Linked DNA regions of Homo sapiens: all the other regions are linked to region 1. Evidence: promoter capture Hi-C in 16 types of primary human blood cells and fetal thymus (Javierre and others, 2016). All regions are on one chromosome and are shown on one strand. The core of a region is centred on a gene start or on the middle of the fragment in contact, and the rest is flanking DNA. Distances in the headings are between cores, read along the strand shown.

Region 1 (5,032 bases), core at 2,470-4,969:
CTAGGATTTACAGTTCCCGTGGCCTAAACTGCCTTTCAAGAATATTTAGAGCCTCAGAGCACTCCAGTCTGTGGTGTGGCGAGGCTTGCTGGAACTTGAGTTCTGACTGCTGGGATGGATGATTCCTCTCTATCTAGAGCTGGTCTAAATGTTCTCTCAGTGGGCAGGCGTTGGCTGAGTTCAGCCTGGTTTTGCTTTCTGCTGTGACAAGGCAGCACTGAGTTCAATGCAAAGCCTCACAACCGCTGCTTTCTCCCTCTCCCAATCACACAGATTTCTCCATGCCAAGTGGCTGCTGTGGATGGGTGGGGAAGGGGTAGCATCCACAATTCAATACTGACTTTCCTCTTATAGACTGTTGGTAGGAGTGTAAATTAGTTCAGCCATTGTGGAAAGCAGTGTGGTGGTTCCTCAAAGAGCTAAAAACAGAACAATCACTAAACCCAGCAACCCCATTACTGGGTATATACCCAAAGAAACATAAATTGTTGTGCCATAAAGACACATGCACACGTATGTTCACTCCAGCATTATTCACAATAGCAAAGACATAGAATCAACCTAAATCTCATCAATGGCAGATTGGATTTAAAAAGTGTGGTACATATACACCGGGGAATACCATACAGCCATAAAAAAGAACAAGATCATATATTTTGCAAGAAATGGATGGAGCTGGAGGCCATTATCCTTAGCAAATGCAGGAACAGAAAACCAGATATGGCATGTTCTCACTTACAAGCTCACTGTGAGCTAAATGATGAGAACACATGGACACAAAGAGGGAAGAACAGACCCTAGGGCCTCCTTGAGAGTGGAGGGTGGGATGAGGGAGAGGATCAGAAAAAATAACTATTGGCTATTGTTATGACATGACTTTACCTATAAAACAAACCTGCACTGTACCCCTGAACCTAAAATAAAAGTTAAAAATAAAAAAGACTCTCTTTCCTACCTCTTCAGTGCCTCTTCCAGTAATATGAAGTTAAAACCAGTTACTGTGAGTGCTCACCTGATTTTTGGTTCTTAGAAAGGTGCTTTTTTTGTGCGTACATAGTTGTTGAATTTGGTTTTCCTACAAAGGGGATGATCGGGGCCTTCTATTCCACCTTCTTGCTCCACCTCTTCCCAGTTTCATTTTTGATTGTTCATCTTCCTCTTATAAACTTGAGCTACTTGTAGACTGGACAATGTCTTATTCATCTTTGTTTTCCTGGTGCCCAGCATGATGCCTGACAAACAGTCTATGTTCAGGAAATATTTGTTGGCCTGAATCAAACCACACTAGACTACTAATGAATATTTTAAAATTTAATTTTCACAGCTACCCTGGGCATAGGTATGTTTGTGCCCAGAATAGTTTTCTTTTTATTTATTTATTTTTTGAGATATGGTCTTACTCTGTTGCCCAGTCTGGAGTGCAGTGGTGCCATCATAGCTCACTGCAGCCCCGACCTCCTGGGCTCAAGCAATCCTCTCACCTCAGCCATCCAAGTAGCTGGCACCACAAGTGTAAGCCACCACGCGTGGCTAATTTTTGTTTTTTTTTTTTGTACAGATGGGGTTTTGCCATGTTGACCAGGCTGGTCTCGAAATCATGAGTTCAAGTGATTCTCCTGCCTCGGCCTCCCTAAATGCTGGGATTACAGGCATGAGCCACCATGCCTGGACAAGAAGTTTTATATACAAGTTTGACAACTGATTAAAGTGCTTGTGAAAGATACAGATTCCTGGGCCCCACCCTATAAATCCTGATACAAGAGATCTGGGTAGGGTGGTTGGAGCCTGGGAATCTGCACTTTTGACAAATGCCTCAGATGTTTCTGATACAGCTTGGGAACCAAAGGCAGCTTGTAAACTAGTACATTCAATGCTTTAAGCACTTCACATTGCCCTTGTATTTCAGGCTCTAAATGCCTTGAAGCTTGATCTGAAAAGAATATATGATCATCCTAACATGTAGGTTTACCAAAGATGGTAAACTAGAAGATGGTAGACTTCTTACAAATCTTGAGTTCCAAATGGCTACTCTTCTTGGTGGGTCTGAAGATTTCTGAGAACTCTCTGACCCAGTCACTGTAAGAGACCTAACAAAGAAATTGTATGGAAGACAGAGATCGAGAAGGATTTACTTGCCTTAGAAGAGCTTTCAGAACCTGTTAACTGTTTACAGATTAACGCTTTAAAGAAGATGGGTTAAGGAGAGGAAAGGAGATTAAATGTGTTTATAGAAGAACAACAAATGCCTAGCACTTAGGGAGGCTGAAGTGGGTGGATTGCTTGAGTTCAGAAGTTCGAGACCAGCCTGGGCAACATGGTGAAACTCCGTATCTACAAAAATTACAAAAATTAGCCAGGTGTAGTGGCTTGCACATGTAGTCCTAGCTACTTGCGGGGGCTGAGGCTGGAGGATTGCTTGAGCCCAGGAGGTGGAGGTTGCAGTGAGCCGACATAGTGCCACTGCACTCCAGCCCGGTGACAGAGCGAGACCCTGGCTCAACAACAACAGCAACAACAACAAAAAGAAAAACAACAAAATGCCAATACACATATGAGAGATTACAATTTTCCAATAAACAAAGAAATGCTTATTAAAACCACATTGAGAAATGAGGGGAAAAAACCTGTAAACTGTCTGCAAATGTGAATTCACCAGGCAAAAATTCATAATAAACTAAATGAGTAGGTGTCCCTAATTTTAAGTCGGTTGTCAGGGATGAATGACTAGCATTGTTAATTACACTTGTAATAATGTGAGCATCATTTTGCCTGTGTGCTTTGTGCCACCTCTGCCAACACCCTGGGATCCACCCCAAATCACTGACCACAACCTTAATCAAGACTGCCTAGGCCGGGCATGGTGGCTCACGCCTGTAATCCTAGCACTCTGGAAGGCTGAGGCATGAAGATCGCTTGAGTCCAGAGTTTGAGACCAGCCTGGGCAACATAGTGAGACCCCATTTCTAAAATAAATAAATAAATAAATAAATAAATAAATAAATAAATAAATAAAATTAGCCAGGCACTGTGGTGTGTGCCTGTAGTCCCAACTACTCTCTGGAGCCTGAAGTGGAAGGATCACTTGAGCCTGGGAGGTCAAGGATGCAGTGAGCCATGATCCTGCCACTGCACTCCAGCCTGGGCAACAGAGCAAGACTCCATCTCTAAAAAAAGAAGAAAGAAAGAAAGAGAGAAAGAAAGAAAGAAAGAAAGAAAGAAAGAAAGAAAGAAAGAAAGAAAGAAAGAGAAGATGCCTATCCAGAGGAATCCACCAAAACAAAACAAAACAAACAAAAAAAATGAAAAAAAAACCAGAAATAACAAAACATTTGTATTGTATGTTACACATGAAGCACATTAAGTGATTTCCTTTGTTCATTGTAACCTTGTGAGGGAACTGGATTTTTGTCCCTATTATTCCCATTGCATAGATAAATAAACTGAGGCTTGACATGCCCAATAAGTCACAGGTAGTAAAAGCAGTGCGTTAGCTTAAATCTCTGATCTCCTCACGCCCCACACTGACTCAACAGTAACAATACATTACTACAAAGGATGTCTGTGATGACAGTGGCCATCCCATTTGATCCTCGTTATTCTTCTTTTATCGAAGGAAACTGAGAGTCACCTTCTTTTCTAGGCAGTTAGGTAACTGAAGCCGAAAGGTATTGTGACAGATCCACTGGGCTGTAAAAGGCAGCGTGTGGAGGTGGAGCCCAGAGTTTCTGCCTCCACAGTTAAAAGCTCAGACAGGGCTTTGGGAGCAGGGCCTGCAAATCAAAGATGAAAGAACAACCTGTCTTGGAGCGCTTGCAGGTAAGCTCAGGCTGCTCGACTGGCGGGGAACAAGGACCTTAGGCGATTCGCTAGATCTGCGCCCCCGGCCTTAGATAGAAGTGGGTGGGGCCAGGGACACTACATCTAACGAGGATCTAGAATAGCTAGGATTTATGAAATACCGGCTTTCAAGTTCTCTGGTCTCCACCCAAAGATGATTATCCTATCTAAGGTAGTGTACGCTACTACAGGGCAGGTCCCGCAGCCCCCGTTTCAAGAGCTGGGATGCGGCCATAGCGGAGGTGGTGTCAGAGCGGAAACCTAGCGGGGGTCGGGGGTTCAGCTCGGGGCGGTGGGAAACACCCCGGGAGAGGAGGCAGCTCTGATTCCGCTCCGGGCCGGAGGGAGAGGAGTTCGGAGGTGGCTTGAGCTGAGAATCCGGAGGAGAGAAGGCGCGTTTTGAGCTGCCACGGGCACAGATCTCAGACCCGGACGCTGACTAGCCGGGGGTCGCGGCTTTCCGAGGCGGCTGGAGAAGTGCCCAGACGGCCGTCCCTCCGCGCCCCTGCGCGTCCCCGTGCGCCCAGTGTTCCCCGTGCAGGAGTCCCGGAGCGATGACAGCGCCGGTTACGGTAAACACCCGCCCCGCCGCAGTCCGCTTCCTTCCCCAACGCGGCGCCGCCCGGACTTGCAACCTCAGGAGTCCCCGCTGGCTCCTCTCCACCGCTGGCATATGGCGCAACAGGAAGTTCTGGGGGCTTGGAGAGGGAGGGTGCTCCTGGCTGTTGGGAGAGCACTGGAGACGCTTGGGAGAGTAGTGGAGATCCTGGTAATTTCTTGGTCTCGCCTATTTTGTCTGGACTTTCTCACACTGTGTATGAAAAATAAGTATAATTGAGCACATTGTATTTCAGGAATAGTCCAGGCAGCTTAGCAAACGTTAGCTCATTTCAGCCTGCTCTGATAAGAACATATGCTCTGGAGCCAGGTAGCCTGAATTAGCATCCCAGCTGCATCACTACCTGTGATTTTGGGCGAGTTAACATCTGTTCTTCGGCTTTCTCATCTGGAAAATGGGATAATACGATTTGTAGTTTCAAGATGAATTGAAATGCTACATGCCATTTGCACTTAGAATAATGCCTGACGTATTTAGCAGGTTGTAAGAGTTTGGGATTCTTAACTATTTCATCCTGGCAGTAATCCTATAAAGTCCAAGTATCCTGTCTCTCCCATCTCCACCGGTTTACAGGTG
Region 2 (4,587 bases), core at 569-3,068, 140 kb before region 1:
AGGTTGCCCCCCAACCCCATTTCAGACAGAGGATTCATCTTGTAATCAAATTATGTAAACTTATAGTATTGATAAATGCAGTGCAGTAGTGTAAATGTATTTTCCCTTTCCTACGACTTTCTTAATATTTTCTTAGCTTTATTGTAAGAATATAGTACGTAATATATTAACATACAACATATCTGTCAGTTGTTTATGTTATTGGTACGGCTTTCGGTCAGTAGTAGGCTATTAGTAGTTAAGTTTTTGGTGAATCAAAGTTAGGTGTGGGTTTTCGACTGCACAGGGGGTTGGTGCCCCAACCCAAGTATTGTTCAAGGGTCAGCTGTACGTCCAGATTTTGCAGGGTTCAATTTTACTGCAAAATGTCTTTTAGTTAATACGTAGGAGATTTAGATAAAAGGTCATAAAGCAAGGAATGTCTTTTGATTAATATTTTCTCTTTCTAATGGGTTTCAATTTTGTGATTCCCACAGATTTTGCTTAGATGACATTCTCATTAAGGTAAAAATGGATATAGCTCATTTGTATTGAATAGCAAAAATGTTAGTTTTATAACCCAGTCTTGTTACGAATGAAGCACCTCAGCACATAGAAAACACTAGAGTTGAAAAGCTGAAAGTCTTTTCAGAAACTTCTTACTTTTAGAAATAACGGGGTGAGATTTTTTAATATTGAGATTTAGAACTGATTTTTACAGGTGAGGATGTGGATAGACACAAAGCGGTAAGCAACTTGCTCAGGGTTACACAATCCAGTTGTGGTAGAATCTGACCTAAAATCCAAAATCGTTACCTAAAATTTTACTGTGCATTAATGAGGAGTTATACTAGTAACACAAATTTAATGTTAGGTATTTAATAAAGATTTAAAATGAATCAAGACAGGCCAGGCTTTGTTTCTGACAAGTTATGTTTTTTCTATTTGGATTTCCTAGAGTAGTTCAACTAGGTGCAGAGGAATGGGCCTGTGACCATGGCCTTTAGATCAGACCTGGTGTGGGCTCACCCTGATGACAGGTGACTAAATCAGAGTTGAGGTCACTGCTGACACCAGGTTTCTAGAGAGAGTTAGAGGTAGAGATACCACCATTGGGGAAAAATGGCTACTAAGTTTACTTTCTCCTCTTATCAGCAAGAGGATGTCACCTCCTGATGCTGACTTAGTTCAGAACCAAGGAGAGTCTGATTTTTGTAAAATACTCCTTCAAAGCAGGTTTGGCAGAGTTTCTTAAAAGGGCCAGGCAGTAAATATTTTAAGCTCTGAAGGCCAAGTGGTCTCTTGTTACAACTCATCAACTCTGCCCTTGAATGGAAGGAGCCTTAGGCTTTGTGTAATCAAATAGTGTGGCTTTGTACCAATAAGACTGTACAAAAACCAGGTAGCCAATGGGCCCCTGCCTTAAAGCAATTCTGATAGCGTAAGCATGTGCAGGATAGTGAAGTTAGCCCCAGTTATAAGGGTATAATAAGGATTGGACTATATTCTCAACTTTAGTAAGATCCCACCTATTTTAAGAGTCACTGGTGGATGTATGTTATGGCAGCTTTGCACACCATTAAGTAACCAGGGGTTTAAGGATCTCATCCTGCTCTGTGTAGTTACTTCTGTATCAAAAATTGACAGCTCTTGTAACCAATCTATAACTTATCTCAACTCACCCTTGCAACCTTGATATTACTTGGTGATAAGTAGTCTCCATGGAAAACCAAAAGTGGCACCCGTGGGAATATAACTGAACATTTATTGCTTTTTACATATGCTGAAATACGGAGATATTGAATAATGACCAAGATGACACTTGTGTTTTAGAATAATTCTTCTGATTAGAGGTGGGGCAGGAAGGGCAGGGGAGGAGTTAGGAAGTAGAATTGAAAAGTATCCTGGGTTTATTGATTGTGGGACTAGGAGAAGAGGCATTTAGGATGACTCCTTAATTTCTTTTTCTTTTTTTTTTTTTTTTTTGAGTCTTGCTCTGTCACCCAGGCTGGAGTGCAGTGGCACAATCTCAACTCACTGCAACCTCTGCCTCCCAGGTTCAAGCGATTCTCCTGCCTCAGCCTCCCAAGTAGCTGGGATTACAGGCGCATGCCACCATGCCTGGCTAATTTTTTGTATTTTTAGTAGAGACAGGGTTTCACTGTGTTAGCCAGGATGTTCTTGATCTCGAACTCCTGACCTGAAGTGATCTGCCCACCTCAGCCTCTCAAAGTGCTGGGATTACAGGCGTGAGCCACCATGCCCGGCTGATGACTCCTTTAATTTCTAACTTGGGTGCATTTGTTAATCTTAGCCATGAAGGAAGGAGGGCAGGTTTTTGTGGGGCATGTGCTAAGTTCACTTTGGATATGAGTTTTGAGTATGGTGAGAGGGAAGTTGTGGGGCATCCAGAGCCCGGGAGTAAACACTAGGAAGAAAGCTCTGTGAGGCTGTTCAACTGTTGAAGCTCTGCTGTTTGCCTAACTTGATGTGGCCATTTTAGTTCCTTTAATGTCATACTCTGCTGTTAGGAATGTAAATTTATGGAGTCTTTTTGCACATCATTTTATATCAAGAGCCTTAAAAATACTAACTCCTGGCCAGGTGTAGGGGCTCACGCCTATAATCCCAATATTTTTGGAGACCAAGGTTGGCAGATCACTTCAGGTCAGGAGTTCAAGATCAGCCTGACCAACATGGTGAAACCCCATCTCTACTAAAAATATAAAAATTAGCCGGGCATGGTGGTGTGCACCTGTAGTCCCAGCTACTTGGGAGACTGAACCAGAAGAAGCGCTTGAAGCTGGGAGGCAGAGCTGGCAGTGAGCTGAGATCATGCCACTGTACTCCAGCCTAGGTGACAGAGTGAGACTCCATCTCCAAAAAAAAAAAAAAAAAAAAAAAAAAAGTATTCCTTCTCACCTGGTAATTCTGGTTTTGAGAGTTTATGCTAATTTTTTTCCTAAATTATAGACAGATTTTGAACACAAAATGTTCATCACAAAAACAAGTGAGTGTCTAAATGCCCAGTAGTTGGGAAATAGCTAAGTCACTGATGGTTACCTAAGATGGAATGATGAACATCCACTTTGTACCCCACAAATATAGACAATTATAATTTGTCAGTATTCAGCTTAAAAAAAGTAAGATGCTAGATGACTTTTTTTTTTCTTCTCTTTTTTGGAGACAGGGTTTTTGCTCTGTTACGCAGCCTGTAGTGCAGTGACACAATCATAGCTCGCTGCCCCCTTGACTTTCTGGGCTAAAGCAATTCTCCTACCTCAGCCTCCCAAGTAGGTGAGACTACAGGCATGCACCACCACGCCTGGCTCATTTTGTTTTTTTATTTTTTTGTAGAGAGGATGGTCTTGCTATATTGCCCAGGCCGGTTTTGAACACCTGGCCTCAAACAGGCTTCCCACCTTGGCCTCCCAAAATACTGGGATTACTGGCATGAGCCACTGCAACTTTGTGTTAAGCAAAACGGAAATGTGCCAAAAGGTTAGAAGTGGTTCCCTCTAGAAGAGGAATTATTAGGCCTTCTTTCCTGAGTACTTCTAATTTCTACATTGTTCATGCTTTGAACATTTTAGTAATATAAATGAGATATACCTACTCCTTTTTTGAACAGTAGATATATATATATAGTATATATATTTATCCTATATATACTATTTATATTATATATACTATTTATACTATATATAGTATGTATATAGTATATATACTGTATATAGTAGATATATACTATGTATATAATATATATGGTATGTATAGTAGTATATATACTATATATAATATATATGGTATGTATATAGTAGTATATATACTATGTATATACTATGTATATATACATATATACTATGTATATACTATGTATATATACTCTATATAGTATATTGAACAGTAGGTATATATATAGTATATATATTTTGAGCGCTTGCTGTGTTTTCAGCTGTTGGGCTAAATCTTTTGAGTACGTTATTTTTCCAATGAAACCCTGTCTGCTAGGCAGAGGAAGGTAATGCTACCTACCTAATTATGAAGATCTTTCAGAATAATCCGTATTAACTGACTTGGTTTAGTCCCTGGTATTTATTAAATCTCAAATGGCAGCTTCCATGATCATCATCATTGTTCATTCTTATCTTGCTTCTGTATATGAGAGAGTTGGACAAAGGAAGGCGGTAATTTGCCTGGTGTCATGTGGCAAATAGGTGTCATAACCTGGATTTCATCCCTGATCTTTCTGACTTCAAAGCTCATTATTATACTCTCCCCAGAGGGGCATGTCAGTGGAGCTTCTGACAACTTGATCTCTTCACCTTATCCCTAAGGGCCCCCCACACCAAGCCACCAAACACAAGCTTGTAAAAACGCGACCAGCCAGGTTTTTGGTTGTTTGTCAGGAGCTTCTTCTGAAGTTCATTACTGTTTGGCAGTTGGAATAATTTGGCAGAGGGTAAAAATAAGAAAATTGTTTGGATGAATGAAGATTTAAGAAACCAAATGACAAAGATATTGAAAATGAAAGTGAAATTGAAAATGAAAATGAAGGCTGGGTGCGGTGGCTCACGCCTATAATCCCAGCACTTTGGAAGGCGGAGG
Region 3 (4,998 bases), core at 1-2,500, 180 kb before region 1:
AGTTTTGAAGGGAAATAAAATGGTGGTGTATATATTTACAGAATCCTGGATATACTCATCACAAAAAGTCACATCACAAAATTTTGTGCTATATTGATTGCATATTTTTGTGTGTTTGTTTGAAGTGCTTGAAGCACTTAACATGGAAAAAATGATGTCAGCCATTTCCTGCTGGATGGAAAGCGCAAGACACTCTGTGGTATCAACAGACCAGGAAAGTGCTGAGGAAATTCCCATTTTAATCATCGAAGGTTTTCTTCTTTTTAATTATAAGTAAGCATCTCCACCCTAATATTGTCTCTGAGTGAATGGGGGGATAAAAACCCTTGTGAACTAAGTATGCTGTTATTTTAGGCCCCTTGACACTATATGGAATAGAAGCTATTTCCTGACTATTCCATATGAAGAATGTAAAAGGAGGAGGAGGTAAGTTTTGAAGCCATCTTTGTGAGTTGTAATTCAAAACAAAAAATGTAGAAGAAAAATGAGGACAGCAACATTATTGAGCAATGCGTATACGTCATTTTTCAGAGACAGGAAGCCTTAACTCTTTTACAAAAGGAGCAAAACTCTTTTCCATAAATGGTCATCCGCATGGAGTAATGCAAATTACTTTCTAAGAAAAGGGCCTTATATCAAGCTTTCGGCTCATTTCTCCTAAATCCTCAAACAAAGCAAGCCCATGGTGATTAGGATTTTAATGTAAGTGAGCCTGTTCTGCCACAGCTACAAAGAACACCAATTAGTTCAAAGCTTAATCCAACATAGTGGTCTCTCCATTGTTATTTACACTATTTGTCTCTTAGTTCTCTTATAAAGCACTAGAAGGAAAAAGAATAATTAAGAATGATAGTCAGTGGATTACAAAGTTAATTTTAATATCAAAGAACTAAATCCATGTTACTGTCGTTCTAACTGCCATTGAGTTAAAACATGTAGTACATGTAGTCCTAATCCTGTTTAGATTCAGCCTCTGAGTGATTTCCCCATTATCCTGACCATTCATATTTTACTTTATCAATTGTGTGTTTCTGTCAACATAAAGTTTCCTACGTGTTTTGATAGTACAAGGGTCTATCAGCCTCCAGACTCTCCGGGATACTTTGATGGCCATGTGTGGCCCATGTATCTAAAGTACAGACAAGAAATGCAGGACATCACATGGGAAGTTGGTAAGTGCCTTTTCTCCTTCTGTTCAAGGCCTTTTACTTGTCATTTGCCTCAAAGTATAGAAAAGAAAGGACTCATAGAAAAGTATAAAGGGATGCTTAAGCAAGAACACTCTGGGCTTCTCCTTTTCCATAGCTGGTTCTCCTGGTTTCTGTTTCTCTCTGTGGCTCTTGTCAGCTTCTGGATGGTTATTCATTCAACCAGTATTGAATGAATGCCTTCCAGTGCTGCCCTGGAGATGGTGAGGGGAATGAGGCAGACCCAGCCCCTGCTCTTATGCAGGTAACATTCTATCATGGAAACAGGTGCTAGAGATACCAGCGGCCCAAGCCTGTCCTTTCCAGCTGCTGTAAGTTCTGCGACACCAAGTTCTAGGGGACTGCCGAGATCCCGGTAGTCAGGAAAGGCTTCCTTGAGGAAGTCACATTTAACCAAACTTCAATGAGTTTAACTGAACAAAGGAGATGGGTTGGGGAGATAGAAGATTACCCCAGAAAGTGGGTGTGGCACACGAAAGGGCCAGGGGACAGGAAGGAATGAGAAACCCCTGAAAGAAAGCTGGTGTTGAGAAAGCTTTCTAGTAAAGAAAACCAGGGGAGTGGATTGATGCTAGTGATACAGGCAGGGTCCAGACCCTATAAGGCCAATAATCTAGGTAAGGACTTTGATCATTGTTCTCAGAGAAGTAAGAAGCTCTCTAGAGAGAAGTTTTAAACAAGGGCATGATTGATAAAAATTCTTGTTTTAGTTAAGACCCCTCTGGCTGTGTGGAGAATGGAGGAGGATAGATTTATAGGGTGTGATGTTGGACGCCCGCACTCAGTAGAACTGGGTGATAGAACAGCTATGGAGGGGGCGGGAAGATGACAGATGCCTCAGCAACTGACAGATGTTAGAAAAAAGTGAAGGCATTGCAGACCTGTAAGGGAGGAATGCATGTCTCTTTTGCACATAATGAGGTTGAGGTGCCTGGGAGACATATGTAGCAATTTGGAGGTAAGCATCCGGATCTGTGGGCTTGAGCTAAGAACAGATCACTGGAATAGGGCACTCAATGCAGGGAAGATGGCAGAAGGCTGTTGGATAAGGCAAAGGAGTTAGAACTGATGTATGCTTTTCACAATAAAGGGGACTTGTCTGTGTTGTGAGAAGCCTGTTGGCCTCCAGGATAGGCAGCTATGTCAGAGCCATGTGGAATGCACACAGAGTGTACCCCCAGGGCCAATGCTGAGATTCTGGCTGCACCACGTCCAACTTGGACCATTGGTTGCAAGAACATCCTCTTGCTTCCCTTCTCTCCCTTTTACCTAAAATGCAAATCTAATCAGGCTCCTGCTCTGCTGAATACCTTGAGTCATCTCCAGATCTTTGAGATACAATCCAAACAGCCAGACATCAAGGCCTCTAACGACTGAGGTACTGAGGTACACCCTTGCTCTAAAATCTCATCTCACGCTGTTCCTGGAGCTTCCCCATATTCTAGCCATTCCAAAGGGTGCATCAGTGCTCTTGCCTCTCCCTACTCATGCTGTTTTCTGACCAGAAGGCCCTTTCCTTCCTTTAACCTAGACAACTTCTACTTTTTCTCCAAAGCTGCTTATGCCAGTTTTATTAAAAATACGTCTTTTCTCTGATAGCAGAAAACACACACACACACACACAAACATACACACACACACAATACATATTTTCTGAGCCTGGTGAATTCTGAGTTTGTACATATGTTGCAGATCCCAGACCACTGCATTGTTTAAGAAGCTTCCCAGGTGATCCTGATGTATAAGTATGTTGAAGAATTACTCCTTAAGTGACCCTTTTGGGTGAACACCTTCAGTGCACCTAAAGTGCCGTATGCACAACACCACTTTCTTTCTTCTGTTTCTTTCCTCCTTTCTTCTTTCTTTCTCTTCTCTTTTAATTAAATAATTTTCACATAAGCCAGTGTGGATTTATCTGTAACAATCCAATATTTTTGACCTATTATAGCTGGCTAGCATCTATTTCTTTCTTTAATCACTATTAATTTCCTTTTAAGTTATGGTCCTGGGTGCCTTGGTTAAACCTATTGGCATTTACAAGAGATGTTGGGTGTCAAAGTAAACATTGTATATTAATAAGCCTGTTAGCATTTGAACTGCTCTCTTTTCCCCTTCGTAGTGTACCTGGATGGAACAAAATCTGAAGAGGACCTCTTTTTGCAAGTATATGAAGATCTAATACAAGAACTAGCAAAGCAAAAGTGTAAGTATTGTGCTAACAAAGTGGATGGTAGAGGAGAAACAGCCAGGAAAATCATTCATTACATATGAAAGAATGGAATACCAGAATGCTAGTGTAGGAGTGATTGTGCTCATCCATTCTTTGCTTTGAGGATAATTCAGAATCAGAAATTCTGGGGGGGGGTTTGGAGACTCAATTATTTTGTCTGTTTTTAGGGGTAAAACCATGTACCCTTTGTTACATCTCTTAATGCTATTTATGTGATTTACTTTAAAACTTTTAGTAGATGGCTGTACCAAATGGGACTGGAAGTATCCTTTGGGCACAGTATAATTAAAATGCTGATGATTTTTTTTAGTATGTCCAGAGCTCCCCTTTTCTTTTATTCCCTTAAAGACTTTCTGTAAAATTTCTACTTTCCAAATACCTCAAAGATAAACAAAAGATTTTAAAAAGTATTATGAAGTGTTTGTTTAAGGTTTTCATATTGGACGGCACTGTTTGCAAGTGACAGGGATCTGCCTAAATATGGCTACAGCAGAAAGACAGTACAGGGGTAATGGTGGCTTCAGGCTCAGCTGGATTAACTCATTTATGCCTAGTGTTCCATTGTTGGAACTCTAAGCTTGTAGGAGTTATTTATATCCTACTGCTGAAGGTCATCACCAAGGTCTCGTTTTTCACAAAAATAATTTGCAACCTCCAACATTAATGGGTTAAGGAACTCAAATAAGGTCCTCAGGACTCTGCTTCTATTCTACTTTCTATTTAGGGTTTATTTTGAAGTCAGGCTCTCCACTGACCTGATGTCTGTTGACAACAACATCCTCCTAGGTCCATCAGTCCCAGGGTAAAAAGATATCTTTTTCAAGATTTGACAACGAGTTGATAAATGTTGGAGCTGGATATTGAGTACAAGGAGGTTCATATTTATTCTCACTTCTTTTGCATAAATTTGAAATTCTTTATTTTAAATAGTTTTCTAAAAAGCAATGTTCTGTTGTAGCCCAGATGATTGGTCCTGCTGGATCACATGACTTGCCAAACCAATCACTATGGCCAGGGAGATGGCATACTCTGATTGGCCAGGCCTACATCACATAACCCATCTTGTAATTGAATACCCCACCTAACACCTTCTGATTTTAAAAATTTCTCTGGCCAGTTGCAATGGCTCACGTTTATAATCCCAGCACTTTGGGAGGCTAAATTGGGAGGATTGCTTGGGGCCAGGAGTTCAAGACCAGCCTGAGCAACATAGTGAGAGGGACTCCATTTCTACAAAAATTAAAATTTTTTAAAAATTAGCTACCAAGCACAGTGGCTCACATCTGTAATCCCAGCACTTTGGGAGGCCGAGGCAGACAGATCATGATGGTCAGGAGATCCAGACCATCCTGGCCAACATGGTGAAACCCCGTCTCTACTAAAATACAAAAAATTAGCCAGGTGTGGTGGTGCGCGCCTGCAGTCCCAGCTACCCGGGAGGCTGAGGCAGGGGAATCTCTTGAACTCCGGGGGCAGACATTGCAGTGAGCTAAGATTGCACGCCACTGCACTCCAGTCTGGTGACAGAGTGAGACTCTGTCTCAAAAAAATAAAAATAAA
Region 4 (2,700 bases), core at 1-2,500, 200 kb before region 1:
TAATTGTTTTTATTTTCTTTTTTGAAATGAAATGGATGTGAAGAAGAAAGAAACCTGAAAGAATATTCAACCAAATGTAAATAGTGATTATCAGTAGATGACAGGGATGATTCCTATATTTTAGTTATATATTTATTGTTTACCTTTTTCTAAATTTTCTAAAAATAAAAAAATTATATTTTTACTTACAAGCTTTTTTAAAAAAAACAAAATGAATGAGATCAGCCATCCACTTGTAAATATGGGATACTCTAGGTAATATCTGTAGATACATACGTCTTCCCCATTAGACTCAGGACCCTCGTGAATGACACCATAGATTATTGTTCCTGGGAACCCCAGTGTCTAGCACAGGGCCTAATATATGAGCTACATTTATTAAGAAACATTTGTTTAGCAAATGAATTCTGGATATGGCCAAAAACCCAAACAAGGTAACCCTGATCTATCCTCCAGATGGTACAAAAATGGCCAGGGTCTCCCACTAGCATCTGCCCGGGACTTCCCTGGGCAGCCTCCTTCCACAAATCGGCCCCCTGTTGGGGATGTGCTGATCAGCCAGAAAGATGCTATTAGCCTGCATTATAGCTTAATGTCCCTTGTTTTTAATATCTTCCAGCAAGTCCTTTGTCCTTACTCACCTAGCTCCTTTCCTTTTAGTATTGTCTACTGAATTGAGCCATGCTGTTTTGCCCAAATCTTGCTCTGAAAGAAGCTGTAAGAAACATGGCTAGGATGTTCTGTCTTGTATTTCTGCTAGAGATATCCAGGCCACTCCAATACTTTAAGAGAACCCACAGGAAAATCTGTCTCAGATCTCAATGCCATTAAAATAACTACTTTTCAGAGTAAGTGACACATTTTAATTTTATGAGCACTATGAATCTTGAGATTTTTCTCTCTGCTTGCAGCTGAGAGCCAAATCTACAGTGACCTTACTACACATGCAGGTCTGTCTGTAAGCTAGCTTTTCCTCTTGTTTCATCTTACTATTCTTCCCTTCCTCTAGATGACCATGCTTTATCTTTACTTTTTCCTCTCTCTCAGATCATGTGTATTTTTAGAAGTCCTTTTGGAATGAGGCAAGGTTTAAACAAACCAAAAAATTAAATACAACCCCAAAGCCCCCAATCCCATGCTGTCTTTGGAGATTTTTATCCATGCAGCTTGCCTGCAGGACAAGAAAGTAAAGCTCCACACCACTCTCCTTGCTGTCAACCAGGGGCTGACCTTTATGTGCATTTGTGACAAGAAAGTCTGTAGACCAGAGGCCCCTCCCTTTCGACTTCCTGACCACCAGCTCTAAAATACACATTTGACCGCCAGTGTGAATGGAGCACTATGACTTAAGGCAGAATAGCAAATGGTTAAGAGTGCAGACTTTGGCCAGGCACAGTGATCCCACACTTTGGGAAGCGAAGGAGGGTGGATCACAAGGTCAGGAGTTCAAGACCAGCCTGGATCCTGTCTCTACTAAAAATACAAAAAAAAAATTAGCCGGGCATGGTGGCGGGCTGCCTGTAATCCCAGCTGCTCGGGAGGCTGAGGCAGAGAATTGCTTGATCCCGAGAGGCGGAGGTTGCAGTGAGCCGAGATCGCGCCACTGCACTCCAGCCTGGGCAACAGAGCGAGAGTCTGTCTCAAAAAAAAAAAAAAAAAAAAAAGTGCAGACTTCAAAGCCAGACTACCTGGGTTTTAATACTGCCTGCTACATCCCCCACTCTAACTGTTGACTTTAGACAAGTTAAATAACATTTCTGCGCATCTTTATTTCCCCATCTGTGCAACAGGAACAATATAATGGTACTGATCTCATAAGATTGTTGAGAGCAGCAAATGTGTTAACACGTGTAAAGTGACTATACCATTGCCTAACACACAGTAAATGTGGGACAGTACTACGATAGGACATTTCTGTTTTTGTTTTTTGTACTCTGTTGAGACGGGGTCTTGCTATGTTGCCCAGGCTAGTCTCAAACTCCTAGCCTCAAGCAATCCTCCCACCTCAGCCTCATAAAGTGCTAGGATTACAGGCATGGCCCACTGCTCCTGGCCATCGCTTTTTTTTTTTCTTCAACTAAGCTAGCCCACACAAAGTTTCAACTCTGATTGGCAGTAATGTTTCTCACTGTAAATTACTAAACTGGCAAACCCATTTCTATGGTAACTTTGTGTCTGGATCTCATTTGTAAATTAATGTTGATTCAAAATTCCCTTTATCCTGAATCAAGGACCAGATAAAACAAATTAAAATAAAATAAAATGCAAAGTTCCCTCTAAACACCTGTCATGTTTAACCATAAGCTTTCTGATGTGAAGGAGAAAGGAGGTTCCTGGGAATGTATCCACAATTAGTAACAGGATGACCCTTAAACCCCCAAGTGTGAATGAACCCACATGTATACATTACTGTGTACACACACACACACACACACACACACACACACACACCTGTCAATGTCCCTCCATTTGCAATATAGACAGCATTTAATACGCATGAAGAGATTTTTAAAAAGGGCATTCTTTAACGTATTTCAACTGGCAGCAGGTGATCAGAAAAAAATAAGATAAATAAAATATTGTTTAGCTATCAAAGAACAACTCTGCACTGTTAGATACTTAAGGTCCTGATTTGCACCTGAGTTTAGAAAGCTACCTCATACATATGCACTTAAAATGGAAATTTCTCATCAGATTCCA

What was found. The method cuts DNA at HindIII sites, captures the fragments that hold promoters and counts their contacts. A CHiCAGO score of 5 or more calls a contact.
Region 2: a fragment that was not itself captured here is called in contact with the fragment with the promoter of TRPM6 in region 1 in 1 of 17 cell types (neutrophils); the score reaches 6.1 in neutrophils.
Region 3: a contact is called between a fragment that was not itself captured here and the fragment with the promoter of TRPM6 in region 1, in 2 of 17 cell types (neutrophils and total B cells). The highest score is 6.4, in neutrophils.
Region 4: a contact is called between a fragment that was not itself captured here and the fragment with the promoter of TRPM6 in region 1, in 1 of 17 cell types (neutrophils). The highest score is 5.0, in neutrophils.

What each region holds. Positions count from the first base shown.
Region 1 is chr9:74,886,608-74,891,639 of GRCh38, reverse strand. TRPM6 (transient receptor potential cation channel subfamily M member 6) reads left to right here and starts at 3,719. Exons shown (of 39, transcript NM_017662.5): 1 at 3,719-3,816. The coding sequence starts at 3,784. RefSeq lists an enhancer at 4,333-4,627. The HindIII fragment of the contact is 4,553 bases long and covers 1,927-5,032 here.
Region 2 is chr9:75,020,514-75,025,100 of GRCh38, reverse strand. The region is part of intron 1 of CARNMT1 (carnosine N-methyltransferase 1); the gene reads left to right. Among named protein-coding and RNA genes, the nearest start is that of CARNMT1, 5.5 kb to the left of the region's middle. RefSeq lists an enhancer at 970-1,019. The HindIII fragment of the contact is 5,061 bases long and covers 1-4,348 here.
Region 3 is chr9:75,065,170-75,070,167 of GRCh38, reverse strand. NMRK1 (nicotinamide riboside kinase 1) reads left to right here. Exons shown (of 9, transcript NM_017881.3): 5 at 126-273; 6 at 355-426; 7 at 1,066-1,172; 8 at 3,328-3,411. Among named protein-coding and RNA genes, the nearest start is that of NMRK1, 20 kb to the left of the region's middle. The HindIII fragment of the contact is 990 bases long and covers 756-1,745 here.
Region 4 is chr9:75,090,046-75,092,745 of GRCh38, reverse strand. All of the region lies in intron 1 of OSTF1 (osteoclast stimulating factor 1), which reads right to left. Among named protein-coding and RNA genes, the nearest start is that of OSTF1, 2.9 kb to the right of the region's middle. The HindIII fragment of the contact is 2,112 bases long and covers 195-2,306 here.